Linked DNA regions of Homo sapiens: regions 1 and 3 are each linked to region 2. The links are contacts of gene promoters, found by promoter capture Hi-C in human tissues and cell types (Jung and others, 2019). All regions are on one chromosome and are shown on one strand. Each heading gives the region's core, a stretch centred on a gene start or on the middle of the fragment in contact. The rest is flanking DNA. Distances are from core to core; before and after follow the strand shown.

Region 1 (3,931 bases), core at 291-2,790, 97 kb before region 2:
GGCAGACACGCACACATTCACACCCACGTTTTGCAAAGATGGACTGACCCTGTCAGAGGATGTGTGGGTGAAGGTGCACAGTGAGGATAGAGACATATGGGAGTCCAGTAGACATCAATCAAACTGGACTCAGTTTGCACACACCTGGAGCTCAAGAGTCTCCAGGGGGAAAACAGAGACACAAAGTCAGACAGAGAGAGAGCCAGAGAAATTTCCTGCACCGTGAAGATAGTCAGAGGCAGGGAAGAAACTCCTTAGCACTAGTTAGAGTGATCAGAAACCAAGAGGACCTGATCGCTGTACCTGCCAGGTCTCAGTTTCTGTCTCCTTCCAACTGACCACCTCTTCCTCTGAGACTCACCAGTTCTGCATCTCTTGCTCCTCCTTCTGTTTCTCCGACCACTTCCACCTGTGGCTGTCACAGAAGGGCGGATGAAGGAGGGGACACTGGAGATAGACTCAGCATCTGCAGGCTTCCAAAGAGAGGGGCTAGGAGATCCACCAACACACCAGCACAAATACACCAGCACACACAGATACACACAATTGGTTCATGTATTGCTAGGTTACAGTTTGCTATGCTACAAAGGCAGTAGGCCAAATTTGATTGAATTGAATAATTCCTTATTTTCATCAGCTTCTCCTTTTTTTTTTTTTTTTTTTTTTTTTGAGATGGAGTATTGCTGTGTCACCCAGGCTGGAGTGCAGTGGTGTAATCTTGGCTCACTGCAGCCTCCACCTCCCAGGTTCAAGTGATTCTCTTGCCTCAGCCTCCCGAGTAGCTGGGATTAAAAGTACCCACCATCACGCCCGGTTAATTTTTGTGTTTTTAGTACAGATGGGGTTTTGCCATGTGGGCCAGGATGGTCTCGAACTCTTGACCTCAATTGATCTGCCCCCCTCAGCTTCCCAACGTGCTGGGATTACAGGTGTGAGCCACCGCACCCAGCCAGCCTCTCAGTTTTGAACATGCACTACCACCACCTCCACAACACACAAATGTAAATGCACTTTCGTATATAAAACTGTATAAATACAAGGAAGCTCATACACATGCAAGGATACACACATAAGCACCCCCAGATTCAACCACAGAAATATACGCCAGTACATTTGCATAAATTCAAACACCCCTTTACATGTAAAAATCATATAAGCACATACAGGGATGCAAGCAGGCATGGACAAATGCATGCAAGCACAGACAAACAGACAAAGCTAAGTAAAAAAGTGCAAGCTCACCTATGCTTACAAAAATAGACATACATATACCCACAAACCCACACACCCACACATTCACTTGCTCACCTGGACTTTGATATCTCTACCACTGTATCCCTGCCAATATCTACAGAGTGGGTAAAGGGATAGGCATCAGGTCACTGGGTTGCCCAAGCAGGAAGTCTGGGTTCCCTAACAACTTTTTCTAAGCTAATGCTCCTGGATGATGATGAAAAAGGAGGTGGGGAATGGATGAAATTTTATAACAGGGTGCAGAGGCAGGGTCAGGATAAAAGGCCCAGTTGGAGGCTGCAGCAGGGTGCAGGGCAGTCAGACCAGGACCATGGAACTCAGCGTCCTCCTCTTCCTTGCACTCCTCACAGGACTCTTGCTACTCCTGGTTCAGCGCCACCCTAACACCCATGACCGCCTCCCACCAGGGCCCCGCCCTCTGCCCCTTTTGGGAAACCTTCTGCAGATGGATAGAAGAGGCCTACTCAAATCCTTTCTGAGGGTAAGACACAGACGAATGGGGTCTGAGGGTGAGCTGCTTCTTGCCTTGGTACTTGGGGAAGCTTCACCAAACAGAATGAGGCAGACTTCCAGAGTCAGGGGTGGCACGGGCATGGTTGGTGAGTACGGAGCATGGTGAAGCATGATGGGTGGTATTATTAGGAGAAAAGCATCAAATTAAATTTAGCAGAGTTTATTTGAGCAAAGAAGTGACTCATGAGTTGGACAGCTCCCTAAACCAGGAAAGACACCACACGGCAGTATGGTCAAGTGGTATTTACAGGCAGAAAAAGGAGGTGACATACAGAAACAGCCTGATTGGCCACAGATCACAGCTTGCCTTACTTGGTCACAATCTGAGCAGTTTGCAGCCTGTGTGGACTGAAAGCCCAGCTGCTCTGATTAGCCAACACTTGGCTACTTGTCACAAGAATATATTCATTTGGGCCAGGTGCAGTGGCTCATGCCTGTAATCCCAGTGCTTTTGGAGGCCGAGGTGGTGGATCACCTGAGGTCAGGAGTTCGAGACCAGCCTGGCCAACATGGTGAAACCTTGTCTCTACTAAAAATACAAATATTAGCTGGGCATAGTGATGCGTGCCTGTAATCTCAGCTACCCAGGAGGCTGAGGAAGGAGAATCACTTGAATCCAGGAGGCAGAGGTTGCAGTGAGCCAAAATCTTACCACTGCACTCCATCCTGGGTGACAGAGTGAGACTCCTTCTCAAAAAAAAAAAAAAAAAAAAGAATATACTCCCAAGTTAGGTTGCAGTTCACTCTACAGAGAGAGCTTTAGGTCAAATTTAATTTAATTAAACAATTCTCCCCTTTTGGTCAGCCTCAAAATTTTGAGATTGACCAAAACCTTGGGCATCAACATTACTTCTGTCACCATCATAATGGACTTGTCTGCTCTCAGTATGGAATTCACAATGGACAATGTCAACGTAGTTGAGTGATTCTTTACCTTTTCTTCATGTTTTTGTTGTTCCCACTGTAATGAGCCCACTGGATGTACAAAGAATGGCTGCATATGAGCATTTAAGACTCTTTTTTTTTCTGAGACAGGGCCTCACTCTGTCAGCCAGGCTGAAGTGCTGTGGCATGATCACGTCTCACTGCAGCCTTGACCTCCCAAGGCTCAAGTGATCCTCCTGCCTCAGCCCCCCAAGTAGCTGGAACTACAGGTGCATGCCACCACGCCCAGCTAATTTTTGTATTTTTTGTAGAGACAGGGTTTTGCCATGTTGCCCAGACTGGTCTTAAACTCCTGGGCTCAAGCAATCCACCTGCCTCGGCCTCCCAAAGTGCTAGGATTACATGTGTGAGCCACCGCACCCGGCCAAGACTCTTGAGAAAATACAACACATCAGGGAGACTGTTATGATGGCTCTCAGGAGGGTAATACGAAGAAAATGAAGTCACTGGGCCTGTAATAAACTTTGAGGAATGTGGACTTGGGGGTATAGATAAGGTCCACTGTCCACAGAGAGAAGAAAGGCTGTTAATAGTCTCTTTTAACTTGAGTGTGTCCATGAACCAAACTGATCAAAATCGAATAATTCGAAGTTCAGACAATAAAGATAGTTCAATAGTATTAGAGTCCAATTGGTCATAGATTTTGTTCAGGGCATGATGGTAATTAAGGACCAGAGCTTGCTATAAAATAACTTGATTTATAGAGACATTCATTTGTAGTTGGCCTGGTAACATATAGTATCCTGGAGACCCACTAGAAGAAACATTAAGAGTAGAAAAGTTTGGGATAGCCAGGCTTGCTGTGTTAGTCCATTCTCACACTGTTATAAAGACATACCTGAGACTGGGTAATTTATAAACAAAAGGGATGTAACTGACTCACAGTTCCACATGGCTGGGGAGGCCCCAGGAAAATACAATTCATGGCAAAAGGTGAATGAGAAGCAGGAAACTTACAATCATGATGGAAGGTGAAGGAGAAGCAAGTACCTTCTTCACAAGGTGGCAGGAAAAAGAGAGAGAGCCAAGGGGGAAGAGCCTCTTATAAAACCATCAGATCTTGTGAGAACTCACTCACTATCACAAGAACAGCATGGGGGAAACCGCCCCCAGGATCCAGTTACCTCCTACTAGGTCCTTCCCTCCACACCTGGGGATTACAATTCAAGATGAGATTTGGGTGAGGACACAGAGCCAAACCATATCACTTACCATCACC
Region 2 (3,937 bases), core at 550-3,049:
TATTCTCCTGGTGTCAAGTTCAGTGCCAACTTGTTTCCCATCCTCGCATACACCTGGGGGCAGTCCCAAAGCCAACACGATGCCTTTCCCTCCCTGGACACACCTGATGCTGATATCAGAACCCGCCAATGTCATCAGTGTGTCCACTGCTGATGCCAGTCCCAGCACTCACCTCCTGCTAAGCCTGGCCTGCACTTGACTCCCAGGGTGATCTAGGCCAGTCAATGAAGGGGGGCGAGGAGAAAGTTCACATCCCAGCTCCCTCACTTACTCCCTGTGTGACCTCACTCAAGAGGATTTATGGAGTCTAGATCTGCTCATCTTCAAAATGAGGATGATCATGATGAACCAACCTCACTGTTACAAAGATTCAACCAGATCATACACACCTAGACTTAATCTTCCCATATATGACCATGCTCACCAAAGGGTAACTGTCCTGTTTACTAAGGAAGAATTTCCTTGAGGGAAGGACAGGAGGGCTACTCATCCCTTCTCCACTCACACCCACCCCAGGATCTGCCTCTGTGCCTAATACTGGAGTTTACCCCAATCTCTTCTGCGATTGTTCCCTCTGCCTACTAATAGTAGTAGCCCCTGACAAAGCAGGAATCGCCCTTAAAGGAGACTTAACTCACCCTCAAACGTGGTCTTCTCTTCCCAAACACTCCCTTTCCACTGGCAGGAAAACCAAATCCAGAAAGTGGAACTAAAGACGCAGAGCAAGAGAGATGGGAGTTCAGGGCCACTCACACATGTCCCCTGCCCACTGTCTGTTTTCTGTCCTCTGTAGATCTTTATATAAAATGAGAAACATAAATAACAATCATAGTATTAATAGGGATGATACAATCAATCTAGTGGGTTTCCCTAAGAATCTGGGTTGGAAACCAGTGGAGTTCTTCGTAAATTACAACCCTTGGGACACTTGAGATTTTTCCAGCATTTGAGGGTTGTTATTACTATTTCTCCAGACCTAGCCAATCCCCTCTGCCAACTGGTAACATGAGGTACTCTTCTCCACGTGTGGGGAAAGTTCCTCTGAAATATGGCTCTCGTCTTCTGCCCCTTTCCCAGCCAGAGATGGGCAGCGGAGGTTCTATGGCACCCATCCTGGCCTCACTCTGAGGTTCCAATGAGGATTCTGGGCATCAAGAGACAGCTCTGGGTCAAAGCAAAATCAAGTCAGTCCCTGGGCCCAGTGCTGGGCTGCTGGGCTTTCTGGGAGCACCTGCTGGGCTTGCTACACACTCCACCTCCCAGAAACTCCACACCCACAGCCCTGGGTCTTCCTAGCCCCAAGACTTTCAAGTCCATATGCCTGGAATCCCCCGTCCTGAGACCCTTAACCCTGCATCCTCCACAACAGAAGACCCCCAGATGCACAGCCACACTTCCATCTCACCCTAGTAAAACCCAGACCTTTGGATTCCTCTCCCGTGGAATGCCCAAATCCACAACTTTGGGGTGCATTCTCACTCCCAGATCCCAAATCCAAAGTCCAGGTGCTCCCCTGTGCAAATATTCCAAACTCCTCAGTTCCACAGTTTATCTGTTGCCCGCTCCTAAATCCACAGCCCTGCAGCAACCCTCCTGAAGTACCAGATTTAGTCTGGAGTTCCCCTCCCTGTTCAGCTTCCCTGGGGTCCCTCTCCTCCTCCCTTGCTGGCTGTGTCCTAAGCTGTGTGGGATTCAGGGTTGGGGTGTAGTTGGGAGGTGAAATGAGGTGATTATATAATCAACCAAAGTCCATCCCTCTTTTTCAGGCAGTATAAAGGCAAACCACCCCAGCCATCACCATCTATCATCCCACTGCCACCATGCTGGCCTCAGGGCTGCTTCTGGTGACCTTGCTGGCCTGCCTGACTGTGATGGTCTTGATGTCAGTCTGGCGGCAGAGGAAGAGCAGGGGGAAGCTGCCTCCGGGACCCACCCCATTGCCCTTCATTGGAAACTACCTGCAGCTGAACACAGAGCAGATGTACAACTCCCTCATGAAGGTGTCCTAAGGCAGGGAGATGGGTGGCACGGGGTGGGGGCTGCCCAGTTGGCTGGGGCTTTGTGGCAGGGGATTGACCAGTGTGGACCAGAGTCTTAGGAAAGGGAGTCTTGGAGTTTCAGCATCAGGGTCCTAGCAGGAAAGACAGGATCTTGGGATGTCCAGCTCCCTGACTGTGAGAACCTGGGGGCGAAGCATCCCAGTACATGATATCTCAGTGCTGGGCCCATTCAGAGTGGGGGCTGCTCCCTCTAACCACTCCCACCTGCCTCCAACAGATCAGTGAGCGCTATGGCCCTGTGTTCACCATTCACTTGGGGCCCCGGCGGGTCGTGGTGCTGTGCGGACATGATGCCGTCAAGGAGGCTCTGGTGGACCAGGCTGAGGAGTTCAGCGGGCGAGGCGAGCAGGCCACCTTCGACTGGCTCTTCAAAGGCTATGGTGAGGGGGTGCCCAAGAGGGGGAAGGTGGCCAGGTGGATGCAATGGTCTCCGTGTCCCCAGCCTTCTCCCTGACTCTCCTGCCCACTGGAGGCTATGGCAGAGCCCCCTGTCTGGTCTTCTCTCCCCATCTCCCTTCATCGTGGCCTCTCCCTGTGCGTCCCTCACCTGTCTCCAGCGTCCCTGTCGTGATTCCTCCCTGCCTCTCTCTGCCCCGTCTCCTCCTTCTCTCTCACTGGAGTCTCCTCTTTCCCCTCTCTCTCCATCTCTGAGGACATCCTGGGTTTCTGTTTTCCAGCCCTGGTCCTCTGTCTTCATTTGTCTTTTTGTCGCTCTCGGCTTCTGTGCTTCTCCGTGTTTCTCCTCTCTCTGCTTCCCTCTCCCACTTCTTCCTCTGTCTTAGGATTTCAGGGTATTCCTACTTCCACATCTCCAGCCTCCAACTCCTGGTAATTGTCTGTCCTCCTTCCCGATCCTCTCTGTTTCTGTCTCCATATTTTTCTCTCTTCTCCAGTTCAGCTTAAGAATCTTTCACCATTTTTATTTCCTCCTCCCAGATCTCCCCATATCTCACTTCCCCTCCCTCCATCTCTCTCTTTCTCTCCCCACTTCCTTCCCTTCCTCCATGGAGTATCCCCGTATCCCTCTGTTTCTCTGCATCTGTCTGTCTGGCCTTTCTGCTTCTCTTCTGATTCTCTTATTCTTTCTACCCGGTCTCTCTCTCTCTCTCTCTCTCTCTCTCTCTCTCTCTCTCTCTCTCTCTCTCTCTCTCTCTCTCTCTCGTGCTCTCGTGTTTCTCTGACTGAGTTTGCAGCTCTCCTGGGCACTCGCGCTGAATCCATCTCTCTCCCACCCCACTCCCTCTCTGCTCCACCCTTGGGGAGCCCCTTGGAGCTGGTCCGCTCCTGCTCCCGCCGCCCCCTGACCTCTCTCCACCCCCGCGTTCACCTCCCCAGGCGTGGCGTTCAGCAACGGGGAGCGCGCCAAGCAGCTCCGGCGCTTCTCCATCGCCACCCTAAGGGGTTTTGGCGTGGGCAAGCGCGGCATCGAGGAACGCATCCAGGAGGAGGCGGGCTTCCTCATCGACGCCCTCCGGGGCACGCACGGTGAGTAGGGGACCCCGAGTGCGAGGGCGGGAACCCGCGCTTTCTGCCTGGGGATGGGGACTAGGTGGGGAAAGGGGCCCGCACTTCCAGCCCTGGAGTCTGGCGCTGGGATTCGGCTCAACAGGGCCCTGCCTCCTGGAATTCTGACTCTCCTCAGACCTCTGAGTTGACTCTCTCCCCAACCCCCTTCTCCCGCCACACCTGCAGGCGCCAATATCGATCCCACCTTCTTCCTGAGCCGCACAGTCTCCAATGTCATCAGCTCCATTGTCTTTGGGGACCGCTTTGACTATGAGGACAAAGAGTTCCTGTCACTGTTGCGCATGATGCTGGGAAGCTTCCAGTTCACGGCAACCTCCACGGGGCAGGTAACTGGCTGCAGCCCGCCAGTG
Region 3 (4,004 bases), core at 197-2,696, 74 kb before region 2:
TAATTGAGTCCCGTTGTTTTTGTTTTTTGTATTTCTTTTTTGTGGAGTGTGTGGAGGGTTGGAGGGAATGGCAATATCTTTTGATCTTGTGATCCTCCCTCAGGACACAGAAGTATTTCTCATCCTGAGCACTGCTCTCCATGACCCACACTACTTTGAAAAACCAGACGCCTTCAATCCTGACCACTTTCTGGATGCCAATGGGGCACTGAAAAAGACTGAAGCTTTTATCCCCTTCTCCTTAGGTAAGCTGGACCCACAATTTCTTTCCCAGACACCAGAGGGCAGGTACTATCCCCAACTTGAGAAAAACAACGAGAGATACTGATTATTTGAGCACTTAATATATTCTGATTGCTTCACCTGCCTTATCCCATTCCATCTTCACTACAACCCTATAAGGAGGCTTGAGAAAGAAGATTACATTCCCAAAGGCACATCTTGGCAAGCAGGACCTTGGGCAAGTATTTTAACATCTCTAAACCTCAGTGAGTTCATTTTCTTAAAAAGAAAAAATCTGTTGGGCACCACTGTAAGCCCAGTGCTGTACTGGGGGCTGAAGATAATGCATCAAACAAGTCACACAGAGACAGGGTTCCTGCCCCAGGAAATTTAAAGTCCAGCAGGGAAGATGGGCATTCATCAAATAATAATAAAATAATCATCTCATGAAATGAATGAATGCCTGCAACATGCTTAGAACTGCCTGGCACAAAGGACATGCTCACAAGGGCAATTATTATTATAATTAGACATAATTGTGATAAGTGCTCTAAAGGGAGCTTTGGGAGCACAAAATAGGAAATAGTAGCTAATCTTGTGGTGGGTCCGTAAGGAAAAGCTTACCAGAGGAACTGGCTTCCAAGCTAACATGTTCATGGGTGAGCATCAATCAACCATTGCAAAGTGTGTTCCAGGCAAAGGAAACAGCAAGGACAAAGGCCAAAGGTAGAAACGTGATATGGCACCATTGAGAACCTATAGGAAGTCCAGTGAGCCTTGGGTGTAGATTGCAGAAGGAAATAAGACAAAGGGCTCATCTGGGCAGGACCTTGAAGGTTGCAGGAGGAGTTTGGATTTATGGTCTAGCACTGGGAAGGTGGAAAAGGTCTTGACGTGCTCTGACTTGTCCCAGTTCTCATCCTCTACTCTTTGGCTGGTTAAAAGAAAAACTTTAGACAAATTAAACTTAGCAGAGTCTATCTGAACAAAGAAACAATTCATGAATTGGGCAGCACAAGGAACCAGTAAAGGTTCAGAGAGCTCCATCCAGCAATGTGGTCAGGCACTATTTATCCACAGGGAAAGGAACTGAGGTACTGAAACAGCCTGATTGGTTACAGCTCTGTGTTTGCCTTATCTGAGCATGTCTGGGCAGCTTGTAGCCTGTGACTGGCTGAAGCTTGGCTGCCCTGATTGTCCAAGGTTACTTGTTACAAGAATATACTCTCAAGTTTGTTTACATGTTGAGTTACATTACAATTTGTTATGTAGGGAGGCTGCTTTAGGCCAAATTTAATTGAATTTAACATGCACCATCCATGAAAGGCCCCAGAAACAAACCCCCAGTCTTGAGTTTCATCAGTGACTTCAGTGATCCAGGGTTTGGCCCAGCCCCCGGTTTTGCGCAGTACAGTGACCTCCTTCCACATTTTATCTTCAATGAAAATTGGGAACATGTGTGGTGATGGCTTGAATGTCAATGTCTTCTCTCAATTTTGCTATCTGAAGTTTCTTTTTTTTTTTTTGTCTTCAGACGGAGTCTTCCTGTGTTGCCCAGGCTGGAGTGCAGTGTCACGATCACAGCTCACTGCAACCTCTGCCTCCCAGGTTCAAGTGATTCTCCTGCCTCAGCCTCCCGAGTACCTGAAACTACGGGCGCATGCCACCATGCCTGGCTATTTTTTTTTATTTTTAGTAGAGACTGGGTTTCACCGTGTTAGCCAGGATGGTGCTGATCTTCTGACCTTGTGATATGCCCACCTCAGTTTCTGAAAGTCCTGGGATTACAGGCATAAGCCACTGCGACTGGCCTGCTAATTTGTTTTAAGAGAGGCAGAGATGTAGGGAAATAAGGACAGAGACAGATAAGTAACAAAGATAATGAGACTGAGAAACAGAGTTAGGGACAAAGAGGGAACACATAGAGATAGAGATGGGGAGCCAGTGGCAGAAAGACAGAGGGCAAACCTCAGACAGTATACAGAGAGGAAGAGAGAGAGACACAGAGAGAGAGAGAGTCACGTAAGGAGAAGGAGGAGGAGGAGGAATAAGAGGAGAGAGAGTAGGAAAAGGAAGGAGGAGGGGAGAAAGGAGGGAAAGGAGAGAAACAGAATAAGAGATAGGAAAAAGAGAGAGTGACATAAAAAGAGAGGAAGAAAGAATGAACAAGACAAATAAGGTATCTTTAGAGGGAGATGAAAAGAAAGAATGAGAGAGAAAGAGATTGGGGAGAAATCAGATTCAAATAGATGGAGATAGGAAGTTAAGCAAGATGGAAGAAAGCCAAAAAAAGGAGAGGAAAAGAAGAAAAGCTGTGTCTGACAGGTATAGACAGAGAAAAAGACAGGAGTAGGGCTGCCAGGGGCAGAAAGAAAGGTATAACCCAAGCCAAAAGGGTACTGCAGCCAAAGAAATTCGAAAGGTGTCCAAACAGACGGCCCCAGAGATGGGGAGGGCGTGATGAGAGGGAGATAATAAGCCTCAGGCTGTTGTGAAAAATGTTAGGTCACACAAAGAGTTACAGAAGAACAGGCCCAGAGACCTGCCTGTTTCTAAGCTCATGTCACCCACCTTCTGGGTATGCCAAAGGGATGTGGACACTTTTCCAAACACCTCCACATAGACACACTTGTCCAACAACTTGACAGGCATAGGGAATGCCTGAAAACTCACACTTGACATGGCCTTTCCAAGGTTTGCAGATTATGAAACACTGAAGTGAAGGGAAAGGCTCCCTTTGTCTCTGCCTGAGCTTTTTCCAGCACCCTTTGTTCTTATTTTTCTCCCAATCTGTGGTTTAGAATCTACTGGGGGTTCCTTGCACCTCTGAGAATCAGTGGAAGCCATAGACCCTCCCTGTCTCATACGCATCAGTCCCATTCACAATTTATATACAATTGGGCTTTTCCCCCCTTGAGCTCTTGAAGCCTGTGGATCTCAGGCTGAGACTAGAAGACAGCCTAGAGACACAGACACAGACACATGGCCAGAAACACATACCCCACACATACCCCAGAAACAAACACAAGGCAGTAACCAAACCTTAAGCCTCCTTAGCACAAGCCAAGTGCTATTCTAAGAATTTTTACAATTGTCTCCTTTAACCTCACAAGAGCCCTTTGAGGGAGGTGCCATTCTCCCCATATGAGAAGTGAAGAACACTAAGAATGTTGTCATAAATGTGCTCACACTCACACATGTACAGGTACACACACACACACACACACACAGAACCAGAAATGGGTCATTATACTCTGTGGGTTTCACCAACCCTTTGGAACTGTAACAGAAGCTAGAAACTCTCTTATATAAAAATGAACATGGCGCCGGGTGCAGTGGCTCATGCCTGTAATCCCACTTTGGGAGGCCAAGGCAGGTGGATTATCTGAGGTCAGGAGCTCGAGGCTAGCCTGGCCAATATGATGATACCCCATGTCTACTAAAAATAGAAGAAATTAGCCAGGCGTGGTGGCAGGTGCCTGTAATCCCAGCTACTTGGTAGGCTGAGGCACAAGAATCATTTGAACCACCTGGGAGGTGGAGGTTGCAGTGAGCCAAGATGGTGCCACTGTGCTCCAGTCTGGGTGACAAAGAGAGACTCCATCTCAAAAAAAAAAAAAAAAAAAAAAAAAAAAAAAAAAAGAGAGAGAGAGAAATGAACGTGGCACATCCACTCAAAGATTTGCATCTGGTTTCAGAGCAGCTTCCTAAAAGTCCACCCTGAATTGTAGGTTAAAGGCCAGTCTTATGCAAATCTGTTGCAGTGGACATTTGTGTCTGGG

What was found. The method cuts DNA at HindIII sites, captures the fragments that hold promoters and counts their contacts. A contact is called where the count stands out against the background at its distance.
Region 1: the fragment with the promoter of CYP2B6 here is called in contact with the fragment with the promoter of CYP2A13 in region 2 in 2 of the 25 tissues and cell types used here (IMR-90 fibroblasts and adrenal gland).
Region 3: a fragment that was not itself captured here is called in contact with the fragment with the promoter of CYP2A13 in region 2 in 5 of the 25 tissues and cell types used here (H1 embryonic stem cells, bladder, dorsolateral prefrontal cortex and 2 more).

What each region holds. Positions count from the first base shown.
Region 1 is chr19:40,989,742-40,993,672 of GRCh38, forward strand. CYP2B6 (cytochrome P450 family 2 subfamily B member 6) reads left to right here and starts at 1,541. Exons shown (of 9, transcript NM_000767.5): 1 at 1,541-1,735. The coding sequence starts at 1,565. RefSeq lists promoters at 1-1,580, 1-1,546 and a cis regulatory region at 1,283-1,306. The HindIII fragment of the contact is 18,373 bases long and covers 1-3,931 here.
Region 2 is chr19:41,086,652-41,090,588 of GRCh38, forward strand. It overlaps CYP2A13 (cytochrome P450 family 2 subfamily A member 13), which reads left to right and starts at 1,800. Exons shown (of 9, transcript NM_000766.5): 1 at 1,800-2,000; 2 at 2,278-2,440; 3 at 3,396-3,545; 4 at 3,753-3,913. The coding sequence starts at 1,821. The HindIII fragment of the contact is 9,937 bases long and covers 1-3,937 here.
Region 3 is chr19:41,012,571-41,016,574 of GRCh38, forward strand. It overlaps CYP2B6 (cytochrome P450 family 2 subfamily B member 6), which reads left to right. Exons shown (of 9, transcript NM_000767.5): 8 at 104-245. Among named protein-coding and RNA genes, the nearest start is that of CYP2B6, 23 kb to the left of the region's middle. The HindIII fragment of the contact is 4,745 bases long and covers 1-3,819 here.